Linked DNA regions of Homo sapiens: region 1 is linked to region 2. The links are contacts of gene promoters, found by promoter capture Hi-C in blood cells and fetal thymus (Javierre and others, 2016). All regions are on one chromosome and are shown on one strand. The core of a region is centred on a gene start or on the middle of the fragment in contact, and the rest is flanking DNA. Distances in the headings are between cores, read along the strand shown. Region 1 overlaps RRP8 (ribosomal RNA processing 8). Region 2 holds the start of DCHS1 (dachsous cadherin-related 1).

Region 1 (4,391 bases), core at 1,496-3,995, 57 kb after region 2:
CCCTTGCCTTCCACTCTCAGGCCTGCATCCCTAGTGGTGGCTGACTTCGGCTGTGGGGATTGCCGCTTGGCTTCAAGTATCCGGAACCCTGTGCATTGCTTTGACTTGGCTTCTCTGGACCCTAGGGTCACTGTGTGTGACATGGCCCAGGTAAACCCCTATGTTATCTGGCTTGTGCTCTAGGGCCAACCTCCGTATGCTAATCTCTAACCCTTCCTTCCCCTTTCCCATCCTGGTATCTCAGTGCTGGCTTTCTTCTTCTGCACTGTGTGCCTTATACAACACTCTCACTCTCCACAGGTTCCTCTGGAGGATGAGTCTGTGGATGTGGCTGTGTTTTGCCTTTCACTGATGGGAACCAACATCAGGGACTTCCTAGAGGAGGCAAATAGAGTACTGAAGCCAGGGTAAGAGCCCCCAGGACACAGATGCATGTATGTATGTGTGCATGCATGAGTCTGTGCACTTACACAGAACTTTCTGTCTTTCTCAGGGGTCTCCTGAAAGTGGCTGAGGTCAGCAGCCGCTTTGAGGATGTTCGAACCTTTCTGCGGGCTGTGACCAAGCTAGGCTTCAAGATTGTCTCCAAGGTGAGGGCCCCAAGACATCTGTACCTGTTTTTGTCTCATGTGGCCCTATTCAGGGTACTGGTGTTCAGGAAGGAGGCTTTAGGCACAGGAACAGACATTTTGCTCCCCAACGGAAGTGGGAGCCCTGGGAAGCTTTGTGAGCAGAGGCAGTACATAGAGGGAGGTGTTTTAAGGAGTTGGGATGAGGATTTGGTTCTCACTGGGTCTTTTCTGCCCCTAGGACCTGACCAACAGCCATTTCTTCTTGTTTGATTTCCAAAAGACTGGGCCCCCTCTGGTAGGGCCCAAGGCTCAGCTTTCAGGCCTGCAGCTTCAGCCATGTCTCTACAAGCGCAGGTGACCTCTGGATCTTCCTTGAAAGGGGAGGCAGATCTCAAACTCCAGGCTCAGAACTGTGAAGACTGTTTCCAGCCTGGCTGTGAGCCAAGACCTGGTTCCTGGTGGACCCTGAGGACAAAGTGTGATAAAACCTCTGGCTCAGACTTGCTCTACTGAAGGCTTCTTGGTTATAAGATGCATAAAGTCACTGGGGCTAGCTAAACAATAAAGAGTTTATTGTGAGAACATGGGGATATCTGTCTCATGACACTTCAGGTGTTATGAAAACTAGATGGTTTGGAATTCAAGGCATCTTTAGGTTTTGCTCTTCTTTCCAACTAAGAAGCCACATGGCCTTCCTGTCCTGCCATCTCCACTCTGCTGTCATCTGATCTGTCTACAGATCAGCTTCCTCTGCTCACCCATAGCTTCTGCTCCTTCAGCTTCAGTTTGCCCAGGCCTTCAAGGTTGCAGACAGGCAGCTGTTGCTGTTTGACTCTGAGGCAACTGGTTGTCCACCAACATCTTGGCTCAAGACATCAGTCTGAGCCACCAACTTGAGACTGTTTGGTTGTCCCCATACCGAGCATTTCTAGTGGTTTATCTTTCCCCTCTCCCCTCATCTCCATTTTTGGAACCATATAGCATCAAGCCACTCCCAACACCTATTGTCCTGTGGGACTTTGGGATGTATATAGCTGAGAGCACAGATTTTGGAATCAGGTAGACCTGGATTTAATTCTTGGCCTGCTACCCAGAGGCACTTAAAGTCATTTAATCTCTGTATATCACATTCCTCATTTGGAAAATGGTAGAATTTTTGTCTTGCAGGGTGGTTGTGTGGGTTAACTGGAGAAATCTGTAGCCAGGGCTGGGAACATAGGAGGTGCTCAGTAAACTAGCTATGACTATTATGTGTTGTAAGCCTTATTGTTTTTTGAAGATCTTCCCTAGGCTGGTTGGAGGCTGAGGGGTAAAGAATGGATTTGTTGACTAAGGAAGCCTCTGGGAGAGGCTAGACCTTTCAACAGGCCTGCTTCATAGGCTATTTAATGACTTTTAATAGATTCTGAGCTTCTGTCCTTGGAGGGGTAGTGAGGGAGCTGGGTCTCTGTTCATAAACAACTTGTTGATGCCATGTGGGCTTGGGGGCATTGGGCTGTTCATTGGCGGAAGAGTCTGTCCACTATCTCTGCCTTGCAGTGGACTCAGATCAGCATGTCCTGGGAAAGCTATAGGCAAGGTGCTGAGGGAAGGTGAGTTTGAATGATAGATTCTAGGCCTCCCCCAAAAGGTATCTGCCATGTGCCCAGGTATAAAGATATGGCCTCTTGTACTTGTTTCCAGGAATACCTGACAGTACCCATTGGGAGATCATAGGTTCTATGCCCTGAGCCAGTTGGATGCCTCTAATAAGGGGATGGAGGTTTTGAAACAGGCTGTAGTCCAGAGGGCATGTTTGGAGGCTGGGCTGTGAATCATTAGGCAGGCACTACACAGTGCCTCTACACGTACTGTTCTTTCTGCTGGATATTCATCGGACTGGCAGTTTGCTCATCTTTCCGAACAGCCTAGTTGTTTCCTATTCTACTCCCAAAGCAAAATCAGTTCTTCATCTGTACTCTCAAAGTACTATGTGAAGAGTGCTACTTCAGCTTCTAAATATTGCATTGTGATTCCTTTGTGCATTTGGCTGCTGTTTTCTCAAGCCATGTTTATCTTTGTATTCCCGGAGCTTGTCATTTGAGATATAGCCAGTGTACTTATTCACCTAGGGAGAGATAAGGAATGACAGGGTCCAGTTGAGTGGGATAGATGAGAACAGGGGTGTTATAGAAACCCAGGTACTAGGGCACAAGATGAGGGCACTGTTGACTAGTCATGATGGAAGAAGTAGGCAGACAGGAGAACTTCATTAGGTAGAATTGGTGGGATGTTGAGGTTGGTAAGAGAGGAATCTGAAGTAAGTTCCAGGTTGCTCAACTGTGGGTAGGCTGGTGATGCCATTCAAAGTGTTGGATTTTAGGAAGTGGGACATGCGTGAAATCTGTGCTGGGGGTCTGGGAATCAGCAGCCTAGAGGTGGTAATTAAAGTCAGAATAGATGAGATATTCAGGGTAAGATAATGAGAAGAGAAAATGGCTCAGAATAGAACTGAGGAGCATGTCATGGATGGGTAAAGGAAAATGAAGCAGTGAAGGTGATGGAAGAGGAGAAGGTTCACCCAGAGATGTAGGAGTAAAACCAGGAGAGTTAATTTTTTTTTTTTTTTTTTTTTAAGACAGAGTCTTGCTCTGTGGCCCAGGCTGGAATGCGGTGGCGTGATCTCAGGTCACTGAAACCTCTGCCTGCTGGTTCAAGCACTTCTCCTGCCTCAGACTCCCGAGTAGCTGGGAATACAGGCACATGCCACCACGCCCAGCTAATTTTTGTATTTTTAGTAGTGACGGGGTTTCACCATGTTGGCCAGGCTGGTCTCGAACTCCTGACCTCGAGTGATCGGCCTGCCTCGGCCTCCCAAAGTGCTGGGATTACAGGCATGAGCCACTGTGCCCAGCCAGTGTTTTTTTTTTTTTTTTTTTTATGGGAGGATGGGCAGGTTGTTAGCTGTCGAGTGCTATTGAGATGAGAGAGAACTCAGAATGCAGTGGGGTAAGGATTGCTGAGTAATGTGGAGGGCCTGTTTGAGGTAAATGGCAGTGGTAAGAGGTTGCTCCATTATGAAAGCCCTCTTCCAGAGTTCCTGATAGGGCCCCAGAAGTTCATTTCTGATTGCTTTGATTTTTTTTCAGGGGAGCAGGAAGCCAGTTTATCATTTGAGAGTGAGAATAGGGGAGAGGAAATATCTTCCAGGCCCACAGTGCATAGAAATACCCAGTCAGGGCAAAATGATTTATCTGTTTACCTCTCCTCATCACTTGGGCCCAGAGCAATCAGCAGTGATTAGGTAGAGAGGAGCCGAGCAGAGGGAAGAGCATACCAATCACTCCTCCCTTTCCCAGTGCAGGCTCCTAGACTTAGCTGGGGCAGAGCTGGGAGAGGAAAAAGGGATTTAAAACTGCAACAGGTGCAGATTATTGTTACACAGGATTAGACATTCTAATTAATTGAGATTATGTTTGTTCCTTAAACTGATCACAGGACTATCTATTAAGAACATCACAACCTCGCTGCAGCTTTTCTCCATAGCAGGGAGAGTACCTCCCAGTGAATAAAATTTGGAGGGTGGTAAGAGACAAGAATAAAATTGGGTTTGGTTATCCGTGCCTCATGCTTGTTCAGCATCCCTTTGAGAGTTCTCCAAATAAATAGTTACTGCTTCTGCAGTTATTGGTGTGCTCCAGCTTCTGTTCCCATAATATAGTCCAGTCCTAAGGGAACACAGTTCTAAAAGAAACAACATGATCTTGGCAGAGACACCGCTCAGCTCCAAACCCAACCATTTATGTAACTGCACAAAACTCTCTACAGCTTTTCACAGAG
Region 2 (4,606 bases), core at 1-2,500:
CAGTCTCTCCCTCACTCCTCTTCCAAAATCACACTCCCTTCTTCTTCAGCTGAAACTGTGTTCCTTCTCCACAGAAGTTCCTGATTTCTTTGTGCCATTTGTACACATCTCAAGTCCAGAAAACCTGTTTTTCTCACAGTCTACTCGCAGTCCTAAGGAAGAAGGACAGGAGTCAGAACTCTTCCCAGTTCCTTTAAGATTGCTTGCTCTTTGTCTCTGTCTGATTTCCCCTCTCCCCATATTCTCTCCCAAGTTGGTTTTTTGAGCCCCTTCCCACTTCCCTGCCCGGTTTCCTCCTCACTTAATTTTTCTAGGGAGTATATCGTGAGTGGGACCACCATCCCCAAAGCTCTTCTTTCCAATATCTCCCGATCTCTACCCTCAAATTTGGGATAAAGAGAAAGTGGGGGAAAGGGAGCCTGGGGGTGAAGGAGAGAAAAGAGACAGAAATCATGGGATAATGAAAAGTGACTAACAGGGGAGAAGGCCGAGGTTACGATGGAAGAAGGGGAAGAGACAGCGGGTAGTGAAAAGGGCAGGGGTGAGAAAAGGGAATGAGGAGAAGGCGTGAGGAAAAGGGGATGATGAGGTGAGGCGAAAGACACAGGGAGAAGGGGATGGGGAGAAAGGTGGGGAGAAGAGACGGGGAGAAAGGGATAGGAAGAAAAGGATAAAAGGAGAGGTGGGGAAGGAGAATCTGATGTAAAGAGGCTGGAGAGAGATCAAGCAGAAGGGGTAAGGAGAAGAGAAAGGGGAGAAGAGCTGGGGAGAAAATGATGGAGATGGGGCGAGAAGAAGAGGATGGGAGAAAGGCAGAGGGGAATGGAGATGACGGTTGGGAAAAAGAAGGGGCGAGAGGGAGACCAGGGCACTGAGGGAGAAGAGGGGAATAGGGGATGGAAAGAAGATGGAAGAGGAGGAGGTGAGCAGCAGGGAGCGGCGAGAAGGGGAAGAGACGAGAGGGCGTAGAGAACCGAATGGGAGGAGAGGACGGGAGAAGTGACGGGGAGAAGGGAAGGGAACCGGGACGGGGGCGCGGCGCGGCGCTGGGGCCGGATCCGGAGCCGGGGCCTGGGGCCGGGAAGTGGAGGGGCGGAGGGAGGCCGGGCGGGCGCCGGGGGGAAGGGGGGGCGGCGGCGCGGAGCGCGGGTGGGGGCGGGGGCGGGGGCTCCGCGGGCGGAGGGGCGGGGGCTCGGGTTACCGCGCGGAGGGCGGGGGGAGGGGAGGGGAGGGGGCGCGGGGCCGCGGCAGCGGAGCTCGCATCCTCGGCGGGGCGGCTGTGCAGGAGGCGGCGCCCGGGCGTCAGCGGACGGACCGATCGACGGCCAAGGGCGCGCGGACCGACGGCGGCTGCCCGGAGGGGATCGCGGGCCTCGGAGACAGCGACTGCGGACGATGCGCGGCCTCAGGCCCCGCGCGAGCGGGCGCTGCCCGGGGGGCTGACCGCGGCCGGACGGCGCCCCAGCACCGGGCGAGGGAGCCCGCGTCGCGCGGAGGTCAGTGCCCGCGCCCGCCCGGCCCGTCTGGCCGCGCCCGCCCTGCCCGCCGGCCTCCCCTGGGCTGCGGCAGCGGCGGCGGAGCCGGGGGCTTTGTTCTGAGCCGGAGACAATGGGGGAGGGGGGGCCTGGGCCTGCGGGACCCGGGCGGGCGTGAACGTGAGCGTGGGGGCAGGGCCTGGGGGTCTTTGTGTGCGTGTGTCATCGAGTCGGGGAGGGTGGCGGCGGGAGCGTGCGCCGGGGGTGTGGGGTGCGACAGCGTTGTGTTCCAGTGCATCGTCGGAGTGTGTCAGTGCGTGTCACTGGGAGGTTGTGTGTCCCTGGGCGTCTCTCTGGCTGTGTGTGCATGTGCGTGTCACTCTGAGGGTGTGAGGGTCAGAATGACCGTGTGTCATGGTGAGCGAGTCCCTGTGAGGGTGTGTTGCCCGCTCTGTGGGAGCCCATGTGTCAGAATGTGGAGGATGGGTGTGTGACAGAGACCAACTGAGACAGAGACAAAGAAACTGAGTGGGGAGAAGTACAGAGAAGCAGAGGAGAGGCAGGCACAGCCTGAAGTGGATGGAGGGGGGGGTCACCCAGACGTGTTCTGAGTGGGAGATTGGAGCAACTGGGAGTTTGTGTCTGGGATACCCAGCTCAGAATCCCGTGCAGGGGACAGAGCAAGGTCACCGCAGGCGTGGGTCCCACGTGGAGGGGGTGGGGAGAGGGAGGTCTAGAAGCACAATGAACTCAGTGTGGCGGGCTGGGCCCACAGCCACAAGGTCATAGGCCAGAAAAATATTGTCGCTTATGTCAACTTCTCAAATACCCATAGGGACACAGTCATAGCCCTACTCAACCCACAAGAGGACACAGTCCCAGGGAACACACATCCTCAAGAGATACCCTCACAGCCATCATACACTTCCAGGAAGCCCACCCCCAGGAAGCACCCCCAGTCAGAACCAACACACACCTACAGCAGACTCTATCAAGCCAACACACACCTACGGAAAATGCTCTCATGACAACACACACCCACAGGAGAAATGCTGCAACCAACATACTCCCACCGGTTCATTGTCAAGGCCAACACATACCATGGAAGACATTGTTACTGCTAACACTCTCCAGAAACACTGTCACCAGCAACAAACAAGTAGACCAGCACCTCTCAGGAGACATTGTCACTGCAATCCACATCCATCAGAAGCACTGTCACAACTGTCACAGCACATCTTATTAGGTTTACTTCCTTGGAGCTGCCCATACATAGTGGGTGTCCTAGAAGCCTGTCACTAACAGGAGGCTGTGCCACAGTTGCCCTTACCACACAGCCACTTGTACAACCCCCAGGAGACAGTCATGGATGGCATGCACACCACAGGAAGACCTGTCCCAACTTCTGAATAAACTCTGCTTAACTTATCAAGCTCACACCTTCACCCCTTCTCATACGTAGATCTCCCAGGTATACCCTCTTGTTCCCTGAAAACTTCGAGATCTGGATAGTGTATCCTGCCATGGTTTCTCAGTGTCCTTCAACACCACAGCTTCACAGATTCTTGACCTCCTTAGCTCCTGTTACCTTCCTCCCTCCCAGGACCACTCTGTAGAACTATTCCACCTTTAAAATTCTAAACTCTTGCATTCCTCTCTCTACCCACAACCTCCTATATCCTTCCAGCTTTCAGATGTTCTCGCTCCCATTACACTCTTTGACCTCATAATGACCTCTTGCCCTTGACCTCTTTGTTTTCTCCTACTCTGTTCCTTTCTGACTTTGTGCTTTCTTTCCAGCTCATATGCTAAGGATCATCCCTTCAACCACTCCTTGGCCACTGTGTTTCCTTGTCTTCTATACTCATCCCTCAAATTATTGCCCCTAACTAGAATGATTTCTCAACCACACCAGGGGACGCTTCTATAAATTCATACTTCTAAAAAATTCAAACCTCAACTGGGCCCTTCATAAATAAATAGATGATTTTTTTTCTATTTTCTTCACACTCATTACCCCACATCCCTCACACCATTGTTTTCAGTAGATTAATTAATCAAAACGCTAATTCATTCATTTAACAAACACATACTAGGCACCTACTCTGCTAGGCATTGTGATGAGAGTTGGCAGCACAAGTGTGAACAAAATGGACATGGTCCTTATCCTCATGGAGCTTACAGGCTGTGGAGTGAGTGTTGTAACACAGCAGCACACAGCAGAGTAACCTAGGCCAGTGTAGGGAGGTCAGAAGAGTCTTTCTGGAGGAAGTGGCATTTAAACTTAAACTTGATGGAGTGGGTGGAGAATATGCCAAGCCAAGGGAGCAGCATGTAAAAGCCCACATGAAGGAAAATAGTGTGTGTGTGAGGGATAAAGCAGTTCAGTGAGCCTGACACTTACAGCATGAGGTGACGAGAGAGGGAGAGTCTGTGGGAGAGGTAAATGGAGGCTTAGACCATGCAGGGTCTAGGAGGCCACAGAAAGAAATTCATTTAACCCAAGAATAATGGAGAGTCACCAAATCATTGGAAGCTTGGAGCGATATGATCAGATTCATTTTAGAAATACCACTCTGACAGCCATGTGGAGACTGGAGAAAGAGCCTGAGAAGAAGGACAGTTGGCTGTTGCAGAAACTCTGGAGGGTATAACACTGGCCTGAACTGGAGTAGTGGCCGGAGAGAAGGAGAAAGTGGATGGTTTCAAGAGCTCTTTAGGCAGTGGGATCAGCAGGGCTCAGTGACAAAGCAGACATGGTGGGGTGAAGGAAAGGAAGGAATTAAGAGTGGACAACCTGGTCTTCTGGCTCACTGAGGAAATTGAGGCCATCTGTTTTGAATTCCCTCAGATTTCTGCCTCCTCCCTCAAATTTTATCTGCATCCTCTTCAATCTTTTCTCCTTCCTTCCTATAAGAACGAAGTGCTGTCTCTTCTACTTAAGGCCAATCCTCTACCTGTGTTACGGATCCCATCCCCTTCCTCTTCCACAGGGACCTCACTCAACTGATTATTCCATGTGTTTCCCACGTCTCCAGTTCCTTCCTTTCTCCCATTCCTCCTGGGAGGACATAAAGATCCTCCAGCCTCTCCTATCTTTCTTTAACCCTGTAATACCCCGTTAACTAAGA

The links. Contacts are between HindIII fragments. The CHiCAGO score rates a contact against its expected background, and 5 or more counts as called.
Region 1: a contact is called between a fragment that was not itself captured here and the fragment with the promoter of DCHS1 in region 2, in 4 of 17 cell types (non-activated CD4 T cells, activated CD4 T cells, total CD8 T cells and 1 more). The highest score is 7.6, in non-activated CD4 T cells.

What each region holds. Positions count from the first base shown.
Region 1 is chr11:6,596,685-6,601,075 of GRCh38, reverse strand. RRP8 (ribosomal RNA processing 8) reads left to right here. Exons shown (of 7, transcript NM_015324.4): 4 at 21-150; 5 at 301-407; 6 at 494-590; 7 at 811-4,391. The coding sequence ends at 930. Among named protein-coding and RNA genes, the nearest start is that of RRP8, 4.7 kb to the left of the region's middle. RefSeq lists a silencer at 2,203-2,497. The HindIII fragment of the contact is 4,041 bases long and covers 725-4,391 here.
Region 2 is chr11:6,652,453-6,657,058 of GRCh38, reverse strand. It overlaps DCHS1 (dachsous cadherin-related 1), which reads left to right and starts at 1,250. Exons shown (of 21, transcript NM_003737.4): 1 at 1,250-1,496. The HindIII fragment of the contact is 4,247 bases long and covers 1-4,013 here.